Linked DNA regions of Homo sapiens: all the other regions are linked to region 4. Evidence: promoter capture Hi-C in human tissues and cell types (Jung and others, 2019). All regions are on one chromosome and are shown on one strand. Each heading gives the region's core, a stretch centred on a gene start or on the middle of the fragment in contact. The rest is flanking DNA. Distances are from core to core; before and after follow the strand shown. Region 1 holds the start of LRRN2 (leucine rich repeat neuronal 2). Region 2 overlaps CNTN2 (contactin 2). Region 3 overlaps LRRN2-AS1 (LRRN2 antisense RNA 1). Region 4 holds the start of NFASC (neurofascin).

Region 1 (3,025 bases), core at 467-2,966, 140 kb before region 4:
GGGAGGAGCTCCTGGCCTTCTTATTCAGGGACAAAACGCTGGGCCAGAGCCCATCCTAGACTGGCGGGAAAGGGGGGCACGGAGCCTGCCATCGGCCTGGGTGCATGGGGAGACCTACATCTTCCCCTATGACAGTGACCAAACTGGCAGGGAGTCACCTCTACTGCCCTGACCTAGGGAGGCTGTTCTCCTCACCACCCTAGGTCCTGGAGTTCTCAAGCAGAGGGCCTGTCAGTCCATCTCTGGCAACTGAGCGCTGTGCCCAGCCCACCCCCTCCAACCCTGCCAGTCGCCCAGTTAGAAGCTGCGTTGGCTCCAACAGATGGGAGCTGCGGCAGCCTGAGGAACAGAGCACAAAGCCCAGCTGACATTTTCCTTCCTGTTCGTTTGGGTGGGGGAGGAAGGGTAGGGAGCACAGTGCTACCCCCGGGGCCCCTCCCCAGGTTCCGGGTCTCCTGCACCTCTTTAGCTTCTCCGCTCGGCCCCAGATGGAGCTCAGTTCCCTCACCCCGCGGCTCCTCGCCGGCTGGGCAGCCAGAGCCTGCGCCACCCTTTGCCAGCAGGACAGACGGCCCACCTGTGGCTGGCCAGCCCATCCTGTCTCCTGGGTCCTGCGGTGGGCTCAGAGCCACCCTTCCGTTTCCGCTTCCCCCTGACCGAGTCCCCAGGCTGAGCCCCAGGCCGGCCCATCCCCCACCCCAAAGGTCCCATCCCAGGCTGCGGTCGGACCCCAGCCAGCCGGCCCGGGAGGAGCCTAGCTCCTGGTTCCAGATACTTCAGACAGACCCAAGGCCACCTTGTCCCTCCGCACAGACTCGCGAGCTCCAAGGAGGAGAAAGTCCCCAGGCTCTGGAGCGCTTCCAGCCTGCCAGTCCGCCCGTGTCACGCCCTCCCTAACCTCACTGCCACCTCTCGGCTCCTCCACATCTCCAGGGCCCCACTCTACCCAGCAACAGTTTGGGGGAGGTTCTGGCCTCTCCAGGCGAAGGCCCAGGCGCCCTCTCCCTGGCCGCTTCTGGGCATTCTCCAGCCCTCCGTCCCTCTGCCCCTCGGCCGCCTCCCTCTCCCAAGTCTCCGGCTCCCCCGCAGGCGTCTCGGCGGAAGGCAGCGGCCGGCCCTCCTCTGGCCCCCACCCGGGTCAGGCGGAGCTGCGGTGCCGGGGCAGGAGCCAGGAGCCCTGAGGCGGCTGCTCCGGCCGCTCCCGCCGCGTACGCCTCGGCCACGCCAGCGACCTCGGTGTCCACGATTCCCCGGCGGCGGCGGCGCTGCCCAGGTCAGCCCCGAAGCTGCACACTCACCCCGTGGGCGCCGGGCACCGTCTGCCGTCTGCTGCCCGCGCGGCCGCGCTCCGCTCGCCTTCCGCCCGGGGCCGGGCTGGGGACGCTGGTCCGCGCCCTCCCGCCGCGCGCGCCGTCTGCACAGGCCGGGGAGGCTCGGCGGGCGCCCTCCCCAACGTGGAGTTATCCTGGGAGCGGCTCCAGGGCCCAGCCGGTGAGGGCGATGGCAGAATCCCAATCCGTCCCCACCCCCTCTCCGCGCCCTGGGCGCGTCGCGGCCGGAGGCTGGCGGGCGAGAGCCAGGCGCTCCTTGAGAGCGCCGCGCGTTCGCAGGTGCCCGGAGCAGGCCCTCGCGGCGCCCGGCACCCCCTCCACGCGCGCCCCTCTTCCCGGCTTCGCGCTCGCCCTCCTCACTCGCTTCTCCGCCGCTCTCCCAACCTCCCCAGCCCACTCCGGTCGCCTCCTCCCAGTCTGCATGCCACGCCAACCCCCTCCAGTCCCGCTGCCATTTTAACTCCTGAGTGGCCAGAGGCCCCCTCTACCTAACGCACACACACCCGGGAGGAAGGAGTTGGGTGGGGCCAGACGCTAACGCTTGAGCTGTCCTTGTGCCTAGAGACACAAGGCTTGGCTGAGAGAAGGGGCACAGCCCTTGGGTCCGGGAAGAGAAGGGTTGGCTTCTCTCATACTGCCTCGGACCCTCTTGCAAAGGCCAGGAGACGAATGGGGAATTCAGCAGCTTTGTGAGGACAGGTGCAGCTCACAGTCACAGCATGCACCTAAGATCACATTTTTGCTTTGCATGGTGCTACCCTCCCGAAGTTAACAGTGGACTAAGGAATGTAGTGGGGTGGGTGAGAATTTGTCACTGGGCCCAGGCACCTCTCACCCTAAAGAATGGAGTGGAAGACCCCTTTAGTTGTCATGCTTTTCCAGCATTGCATCCTGAGCCGTGCAGCTCTAGCATTCTGGAAGATTCCGTCCTGGCTCTCAATGAAGGAGGTCAATTTCAGTCAGGAACTGGCAGGCCCAGTTAGGGGTTTGGCTTCAGGGTTCCCCACTCTGCCAGCTGGACATCATGAAGACTGGGGGAGGAAAGTAAGAAGGTGCCAAAGGTGGGTGCTAGGCTGCTGCCTGGTGGCTTAGAAAAGCTGGGTGACTGCCACTAGAGGAGGGCAAAGGCCCAATGCCCAACACCCATGCCTTGGTGGGGACTTCAGCCTGGACCACTCAGAACAGACATCACAAACTCGGCTCCATGGCAGGCCACACCCTACTGATGGGTCTGGACCAGAGCCTGCAGAACCAACAACAGGGGAATGGATGAGGTGGAGGCCAAGGTGTGGAGTCCTGTGAGGAGTGGCTTCCCTGGGCTGCCTGCCGTCATCCAGTGCTTGAGCTTCTGGCCCTGTCTTTTCCAAGGGTACAGCCAGTGGTGACTGCCATGCCTGGTGGCTTTTGTGAAGTTGGCTTGAAGGTCTGAGTTCTGTATGCACAGAGGGGATTCTCACCTTCATATATTGAATGAGCACATATTAAGTTCCCACTAAACCACCCCCATGTTCCCACTCTCCACCCCTGCTACGGAGCATAATGGCCTCAAGGAGCTCAGAGTGACAGGTTGGAACTATATGAAACCAATTTTAATATTTCAAGACGATGGAAGTGCCATAGAAATACAAAAAGAAACCACCTTAATGGACTAGCATTATTCACAAAAGGTTTAACGGAGGAGCTGAGTCTCCAAC
Region 2 (2,796 bases), core at 255-2,754, 230 kb after region 4:
AGGCTGGAGGTATGAGTGAGGTGCCTGCATGGAGGTGGTACTACGCTGGGGATAATGAATGTGTCCAGAAAGTCTCACAGCACAGTGTGACCAGCTCTCATATCCCAGCCTCCCTGCAGAATGCCCAGGGGCATTTTCTAAGACTTGGTCTCCTGAGCCTCACTCCAAGAGATTCTGACTCCTTATCTGTGAGATGGAGCAGGGCCTCTGGTGGTTCTGATGGGAAACAGAGGTCAAGAGTCAGGAACAGTGGGGTTAAGAATGCTTGTGGTGGGGTCAGCCTGGCCAAGGTCCAACCCCCCAGATCCGCTCCTTCTCGCTGTGGGATCTGGGGCAAGTTATTGAAGCTTTCTAACTGTCAGTTTCCATGTCAGGAAAATAAGAAAATGGCAATACCTATCTTGTAAAGAGGTTATGAGAAGGAAATATGGAGCATGGTATGGGATAAATAGTAAGCAGTCCGTCTATAGCACCTATTTTTATTATTATGAATGCATGGATTATATATAAAAGTCTCCATGGCCATCTATAGCTGTGTGTCAGGGGGGAATGGATGTGTGTGTAAATGTATGTATCTTGCCATTTGAGCAGCTTAGGGAGGTGCATATGTACGAATGTGTGTATGACATGAGCGTGCATATAAGAAAATGTGTGTAGGTGAGAGATGCGAAGGGGTGTGTATGTGAATATTTGGGTGAGTGGACAGCTGAGAGCAGAGGAGAAAGGTTTCTCGGGAAGAAAGAGTCTGAATGTATCAACATGCCCTGAGCCCACTCAGCCACCCCATCACCCAGCGTTCCTGGAAGCTGCTATTGTACTAGGTGGTTCCCAGCAGTCCGGCTGCCTCCCAGCGCCTCCTTTGCCTCCCCTCCCAGCAGTGCCAGCTGGGGCAGGATTCCTACCGTACACCACCATCATTAACTTGGGATTAAGCTGGACTTTCCAGCCGAGATGATGCCGTCACCGCCCGCCGCCTCCGCCTCTGAGGCCTGGGGCGGCAGTGAGGGAGAATGGCACAAGGGATGCCTGCACCGGGCCATTCCTGGGAGCCCTGCCTCCTACCTCATTCTGAGAGCTGCTTAGCAGCTGCCCTCACTCCCAGGGGGCCAAGGCTGGGCCTCAGCTGCAGCATGGGGCCACCCCCTACCCCTGGAAGAGGACTGATGGCTGGATGCGCTGGGAAAGGAACTAATTAGTTAATGGGGATCCCTTTCCCCATGACCCACCAAGGAAGGCCTGAAATCAGCTGCGTTAAGAGGTAGAAGCCAATTAGGGATAGCCTGGCTCCCACCTGACACCGCAGAAGCAAAACGGACTGGCCCCACCAGTCAGCAGAGAGCCCACCCCAGCCCTGTCGAAGGGCAGGTGTGATGTCCGGCCAATCTGTGGCTCTTCATCCCCTGCCCTGCCCTGCAGCAGGACAATGATGCATGAAGAGAGAGGAGTCTGCCCCATTTGCCTGTGTGGTGCTCATTGGTCCACCAAGCTCAGGAGGAATTGATCTGTCTGTGCCACAGACTTGCTGGGTGACCATGGGCAAGTCACTCCCTTTTCTGGACATTTCTTGAATTGTGATACTGGAATTGTATAAAACTGCCACCAAAGCAAACTGCCCACCCTCCACCCACCATAAGGCAATCCTTCTCCTCCAAGTCCCCACCCCACATGTGGCTCCAGCAGACATCTGCTGAGCACACTCTCCGTGCCCGCCACCTTCCAAGGGTTTGTCTGGCTGAATCCTCATGCAGACCCTGGGAGGTGAACTCATATTCTTTTCATTTCACAGGTGAAGATACTGAGGCTCAGAAGAGTTCTATAACTTTCCCAAGGTCCCACAGCTAGTAGAGGGCCAGCCTAGTCCCCAGGCCCAGGCCTCGTTGGTCCACACTGCCCCAGTAAGGGTATTAGGCTCCAGGGACACACATCCTCTCTGCATGTTTGTGGCTGGCGACGTCTCATGCACCTCACACCCCACAGATCAGTTCTTCTGTAAGGGTCCCTTGAAAGCCCCCTGGGAGGTAGAACTGCTTCCATTCTGAGGCCCCAGCATCTTGAACTTTATGGCATTTGCTACCTTGCACTGTCAATTTCCTGTCTCCCTCCTTGGACCGCAAGCCCCTTGAAGAAGAGGGACTGTGTCTTAATCATCTTTACAAGCCAGTCTCTAGCCCAGTGCTGGGTATAGAGCAGGTGCTCAATACCTAAGTGTAGGATGGGTGATTGATTGAACTAGTATGGCCAGATGGGGCCTGCCCAGCCTATTTAAATTCAAATTTAAATTAATTAAGTAATATAAAATGTAAAATGTCGTTCTTCAGTCGCAATAGCCACATGTCAAGTGCTCGATAGCCCTACGTGGCTAGTGGTTACCACATTGAACAGTGCAGAAAATGGGACATTCCCATCATCAGAGAAAGTTTTACTGGACAGCACAGCCCAAGAGGCCAGGCTCCAGCCAGGCCAAGGCTCTGAGGCATCTGGTGGTGTCATCACCTGCAGCTTGGAGTTCAGCCCTGGGATCCCAAACCACCTTCGGGCCTGTCTTTGAAGACCAGCCCCTCAGTGTGCTATTCCCAGAGGAGTCCACGGAGGAGCAGGTGTTGCTGGCATGCCGCGCCCGGGCCAGCCCTCCAGCCACCTATCGGTAAGGCCTCTGCAGTGGGTGCTGGGAGGCCCTGGGCAGCCGTTGAACTTTCCCTCTCATCAGCCCTGCCACCAGGCAGGACTCAGAGGTCCCCTTCCTCTGTCCCCTGCTGCAGGTGGAAGATGAATGGTACCGAGATGAAGCTGGAGCCA
Region 3 (2,769 bases), core at 13-2,512, 250 kb before region 4:
CCAGCTACTCGGGAGGCTGAGGCAGGAGAATCACTTGAACCTGGTGAGGGCCGGGGGAGGGGTGGTGGAGGTTGCAGTAAGCCAAGATTGCACCACTTCACTCCAGCCTGGGCGAAAGCATGAAACTCCGTCTCAATCAATCAATCAATCAATCAATCAATAAAATAAATCCAAGGCCTAAATCCAAATCTCATGCTCTATCTGTGATCTGAGCCATGGAGTAGCCATTCTAATCAGGACTCTTTTTTTCTACTCCAAACTCATCACCACTGCCAAAATCCACTGCCAAGGGTTACACCTGGGCAAGGACATTGCTCCAGTTCAAATTCAAATGACCTGGGAGACAAAACCCACTTTTGTGAAAATATGTCAGAAAGAAATTGATCTGAACTTGGGAACAGGTTTTGATCCAAGGGCTAGTGTACAGCCCAGGGAGGGCCAGCGGAAGTAAGAAGACAGCTCCATCCATCAGGAGCCTCTGTGTTCAGGGGACAGTGGGCAGGGGGTGGGTTGCCAGGAGAGGGAAGAAGCTGGGGAGGATCAAGGGAAAAAGTTAGGGGAAGAGCGCTGAGAGTTCACGCCCACTCTCCTGCTTGGGCCCTGATAACTGGGGAAGATTCAGGGCAGAGAAAGAGGAGTTTACAGGTCTCAGGAACTGAGGTGGGTTACACCCAGTAAATGACTTCCTAAAGGTCAACTAGCCAAAGCCATGCCCTCCTCTGTGGCCTGGGCCAGGTGGGGCAGGCCAGGTGGATGCTGGGATGGCCCAGAGGGCAAATAATGGACAATGAACCAGGCCAGGGCAGCATCTCTGCTGGGCGGGAAAAACAGGAAGCTCAGGCACATGCAAGCCAGGTAAGTGTGTGTCTTGAAGATGGATGAGAGTTCCCAGACAAGGGTGACCTTTTCTTTCACCTCGTCCAGCTAGACAGACGTGGTGGTTCCAAGGCCCCTTGTCATCTGCTGATTGCTTTGTGATTAATGTACAAGTCACTTATTCCCATCTCCTGTCCCTGCTCCATTCTCCCCCAGCTCCCGGGCAGACTCTTCTGCCCTTAGGTAATTTACTTAGAAATGATTGTCCCTAGAATCTCTCCATGTGCTTTGTGTACAGATAGTGACCAGGTTCTGCATGTGATTTCCCTGTGGAATTCCAACCAAGGACAGACAGGTGAGTCACAGCACTATGGAGAGACTTAAATATCTGCAATGAGCAAAGCAAGGCTCAGCCGGGGGCAGACTCAGTCCTGCAGGAATTGCCCTTCTTCCTGCATGGTTTTGGGGTCAGCTGGAGAGCAATGAGTTTGCACATGCTGGTCATTCACCAGAGCTGCCTGTGGGGTCTCAACAGAGTTCCACCTAGAAGGGACAGCCTGACCCTGGTTTACCTGGGAACCAGAGAAAAGCAGCTGGAAGGCTACTCTCAAGTCACCAATACCAAGCCAGGTAGACCCTATCCCCTACAAATACAGGAAGCCAGTGGTCTCCAATGGACATTATTACTTCATTTTCACACATATTTTATTCACTTTGACCTGGGGCTCAAAACACAGACTGCATATAAAATGGGTTTGATGCTGATTTGGCTACATGGACTTCATAATTCATCAGAGCAGGAAAGACAGAATCATAAGCTGTTATTCATTCATTCAACAAATATTTACTGAACACCAGACAGGAGAGAGGGATTGCCTGTGTTAATTCATTAGGAAGAGCACATCGTATTAATAATACTTCATGCTGTTCAGCTTTTCGTGCTGCAGCAGAAATTATTTAATTACCCTTTACTTCCACCCCGGCCTCCCTACCTTCCACTACAGAGCAGTTGAAAATGTTTTTGTTCAGTATGGGGAAGCTTTGTAAGGTAAAGGACAGGCAGGAGAGAAAGAATGCTCTATTTGCAAAACAAGGCCAGGGGTGTGAGCTCTTGAAAGACAGAGCAAAGTTATGACAGCCGGAGGAATGTGAATTCCTCCAACAGACCAAATGGGAGCTTCAGAAAAAAATTAATCTGGTGGCAGAATATATCTGGCTTCAGACTTTTAAGTATGAAACTAGCTGCTGTGAGAATAGGAAGCCCACACTCAGAGCTCAGCCTGCCCTCTACAGAGCAGGCAGGCGTTCCTTTCCCTGGGGACTACGAAGAAGACAAGGGCTTCCGAAGGTGTCCCACACGCAGCCTCCCTCCTTCCCCAATTCCCCCTCCTGCTTCCACACTTATCTCTCCCCCAGTGAGTGATAGCCAAATCCTCTCCACTTGCAGATGTAGCCTTGGGAGGACAGCACAAGGGGATGCAGCCCTGGAGCAGCAGCAGGTGTGGCCCATCTGGACTCACCACTGCTGTGGAAAGGGGCCCCGGCCAGCTGGCCCTGTGGGCTGGAATTAGAGCAGTCGTAATGGGCTGTGTTACACAGTGTGCTCTTCTAATCAGATACATGTGGACATTAACTAATTAACGGCAGCCCTGTGAGTTAAGTATTGTGATGAGTGAATTTGACAGATGAAGTACAGAGAAGTTAAATGACTTGCTTGGGGTCACACTGCTAGCAAGGGGTGGAACAGGGATTTGAATCTGGGCAGTTTGCCTCCAAAGTCCTCATAATTAACAGTGATCCATTCTGCCCTCCTATCTGACCATTTCTCTTATGTTAGACTCTTTTGAATGCAAGTGACAGAAACCCAAGCTAAGGATGCTCCAGGCAAGGAAGCAGCATTTGCAAGGCTTGGAGACCCAAAAGAAGGAAAGCGGTCAGGGAGGGTTCTAAGTT
Region 4 (2,988 bases), core at 283-2,782:
TAGGCTCTTCTTAGTCCCCAGAGTCCATCACCAGCAGGGGGTGCCTCTCCCTCCATCAGGACTTGCCTGCAGCTCTGGGACACCACCGAGGCCAAGGAAACACCTTCACCCTCAGGGCCTCTGGGGGTCACCATGCTCCCTTTAGGCCCACACTTAATTTCTTTATACTAAGGCCATGAAACTTGAGTCCCAGTTCAGTTTCAACCACCAAACCACTGTGTGGGGTCCATCTCTCTAGACCTTCGTGTATTTGCTGTTTAAAAGTAATGAAGAAAGGGGAGGGAAGGCTGAACAATAATTAACATTTGTAAAGAACAGTTTGGTTCAGTACCTTATCTCATTGATGCTCACTCTATGCCCATTTTACAGATGGGAAAAAGAAGACTTAGAGAGGTTAAGTGAACTGCCCAAGTTTACCCTGCTGGTAAGCCAGGACTTTCTTGGCAAATCCTGTGATCCTTCAACTTGACCATATTAGAAGATTCTAGTATTGGTGAAATCTAAAACTTGTAGGGCCCATCTTAAAATAGCAAAGTAGTTTTAACTAGGCACTGTCAGATGCATCTGGGCTTTGAATTATTACTTGGGCAGGTTCCTTGAACTTTGGTGTTCTCATCCAGAATAAAAGACAGTGGTGCCAGGGTAGGAGCTATGAGCACAGAGAAAGTAGCCCTTGAATGGGGCCACAGAGGGATGCTGCAGGGGACTGTAGTTTTGGATGAGGAGCTGAACTAGAAGCTTCCAAGTGCTCTTCCAAGACAAAGATTCTATGATTCCCTAACTGGGATCTTTCCACTGTTTCAGGTGATAATTCTGAGCTCAGATCCTGTGCACAGAACCTAATGCAGTCTTCGTGTCAGAGCTAGAAGAGACCTTGGGCGACCACCCAATCAACTTTTCATGGTTCAGTTGTGGAAACTGATGTCCACAGATAAATGTCTTGCTATCATGTCAGATAGTTCTCCAGCCACGACTGAGGCCTGAGTCCCCCTAGGGCAGAGGAAATCTCCCATTTCTAAAAGAAAGCCCCGCACTGTTCATAGCAGTCACAACCTCTCTCACATCCCTGAATCAGGATCCAACGACTTGCCAATCAACAAATGTTGCTGGAGAGTTTACCACAAACAAGTCTCTGTGCTAGGCCCTGAGAACACAAGCTGTCCGGCAACTTCCTGCTCCCTAAAGTCACAGTCTATGGTGGAGGTGCAAACAAGCGATCCTGTTGGGGCTTCAGGGTACTTCCTCCTGTGTGCTTTGCACGTAGTAGGTGCTCAGCGAACGGAAACGGGGAGACTAGTTATCACTCTCCAGGCAAGCCCGCAAAGAGGCCTCAGGTGAAAAGAGAAAGGAGGATTTTTTTTTCCGGCCCTGGCTCTGCGCACCGCTCCCCAGCGCGCCAGGCGGGGCTGCGTCCGGAGCATCCTTCCCTCCGCCTCTGTCCTGGTCCCCGCTCAGCGGCCGCTAGGAGCGCGAAGGGAGGGGCGCGGGGGCGCGCACGCAGGGTGTCGGGGGCGCGCCGGCCGCCCGGGGACGCGCACGGGCTGGTCTCTGCCCTAATGCGGCGGCTGGCGGCGAGAGGCGCTGCAGGGGACGCGGGGGAAGTGGCGGCGCCGGCAGCGGACAGCTCGGACAGCGCCCAGGGCCGGAGCCCGAGCCCTTGGAGGTAGGCGAGCGCGAACACCGGAGAGATGGGGGTAGAGAGTCATGGAAACCCACCTAGCGACACCCCCTTGTTCCCGCCCTCGTCTGTCTCCATCCCCTGACCTGCCCCCTCCCCCTCCGTCCACATTCCCATCCCTTCCCCTCTCCACACTGTCACCTGCCCCGAATCCATCCGATTCTGTTCGTATGCCCACCCCGTCCCCGTCCAGCTCCCAGCCCCCTGCCCACCCCAACACCCTTTCTATCTCGTTGGCCGCGTCCCCTCCCCCTTCCCGCATCCTCAACCCTTTCCCTTTCCTCTCTGTCCCCGCCTCATCCGTGAGCCCTGCCTGCCCTTGTACTTCTGTTTACCTCGACACCCCACTTTGGATGACCCCATGCCTCCTGTATTTCCTACCGCACACATCAGCCCCTTCTTGCCTCCCCTATTCTCTTCCCCATCTCATGCCCCTACCAGTTGGTGTCCTGTCTCTCCATTTGCTCCCTCAGTTTCTGTCCTCCCCTGGTTCCCCCTTGCACGCCCTGTCCCAGCCCCTTCCCAGCTGCCTCTTGGTGTCCTCCTGCATCACAGTCCCTCTCAAGAACCCCGCCTTCTCCCCCCTTTGGCTGTTAGCTGGCCTGACACCCGTCACCTTCCCTAGCTGCCCTTCCTGGTGCTGTGTGGAGCCATACAGCCTGTACCCAGCCCTCCCTCAGTGGCCTCTGGACCCCCCTTCCCTGGGTGGGGATCTTGGTTGTGGAATATAACCCCTTTCTGCATGTTCGATCCTATTTGTGGCTTGGGGAAGAATGCTGGGGGTTAGTAGGCCTCTCTCTTATGTTCCTCTCCAGCCATGCAGCCACTCTACTCCTCTAGCTGTTCAGGTTTGTTTCCTAGATGGATTGGGGGAGGGGGTGCTAGGCATTGGGAAACTAGGATGGGGAAGGGGCAGGGTCCAGGGGAATGACTGAGCAGACTCCTCCTGGGGCTTGGCCTGAGCCCTGATGTAAAGGCCTGGATGAGGAGCCCTGCTGGAGGGCTGGATAATTTTGGATTTTAGAAAAGATTCTGCTTCAGCCTCCAAGTCAGCACTTTGGCATCTGGAGCTGTCATGAGTGTGGCCCATGGGCTGGGCCAAGAGTGGGCAGAGTGCTGAATCACCTAGAATCTGGTCCCCATGGCAGCCCCCATCCTGTCCTGAGCCAGGTTCTGCTCCTGACTCCTTCCTTGGCATTTTGGCATGGGGTGTGTGTGTGTGTGTGTGTGTGTGTGTGTGTGTGTGTGTTGAGCAGAGATGCCTCATCCCTCAGTGTGGGGGAGAGGACAACAATACCCCTTTTCTGCCT

Evidence for each region. Contacts are between HindIII fragments. The study calls those that stand out against the background at their distance.
Region 1: a contact is called between the fragment with the promoter of LRRN2 here and the fragment with the promoter of NFASC in region 4, in 1 of the 25 tissues and cell types used here (pancreas).
Region 2: a fragment that was not itself captured here is called in contact with the fragment with the promoter of NFASC in region 4 in 1 of the 25 tissues and cell types used here (hippocampus).
Region 3: a contact is called between a fragment that was not itself captured here and the fragment with the promoter of NFASC in region 4, in 1 of the 25 tissues and cell types used here (H1 embryonic stem cells).

The regions. Positions count from the first base shown.
Region 1 is chr1:204,684,022-204,687,046 of GRCh38, forward strand. LRRN2 (leucine rich repeat neuronal 2) reads right to left here and starts at 1,717. Exons shown (of 2, transcript NM_201630.2): 1 at 1,299-1,717. The HindIII fragment of the contact is 8,916 bases long and covers 1-3,025 here.
Region 2 is chr1:205,055,422-205,058,217 of GRCh38, forward strand. CNTN2 (contactin 2) reads left to right here. Exons shown (of 23, transcript NM_005076.5): 3 at 2,500-2,644; 4 at 2,760-2,796. Among named protein-coding and RNA genes, the nearest start is that of CNTN2, 14 kb to the left of the region's middle. The HindIII fragment of the contact is 5,062 bases long and covers 1-2,796 here.
Region 3 is chr1:204,572,573-204,575,341 of GRCh38, forward strand. LRRN2-AS1 (LRRN2 antisense RNA 1) reads left to right here. Exons shown (of 13, transcript XR_007066814.1): 3 at 1,115-2,769. Among named protein-coding and RNA genes, the nearest start is that of LRRN2-AS1, 9.8 kb to the left of the region's middle. RefSeq lists an enhancer at 196-896. The HindIII fragment of the contact is 9,492 bases long and covers 1-2,769 here.
Region 4 is chr1:204,827,120-204,830,107 of GRCh38, forward strand. NFASC (neurofascin) reads left to right here and starts at 1,533. Exons shown (of 30, transcript NM_001005388.3): 1 at 1,533-1,663. The HindIII fragment of the contact is 4,389 bases long and covers 1-2,988 here.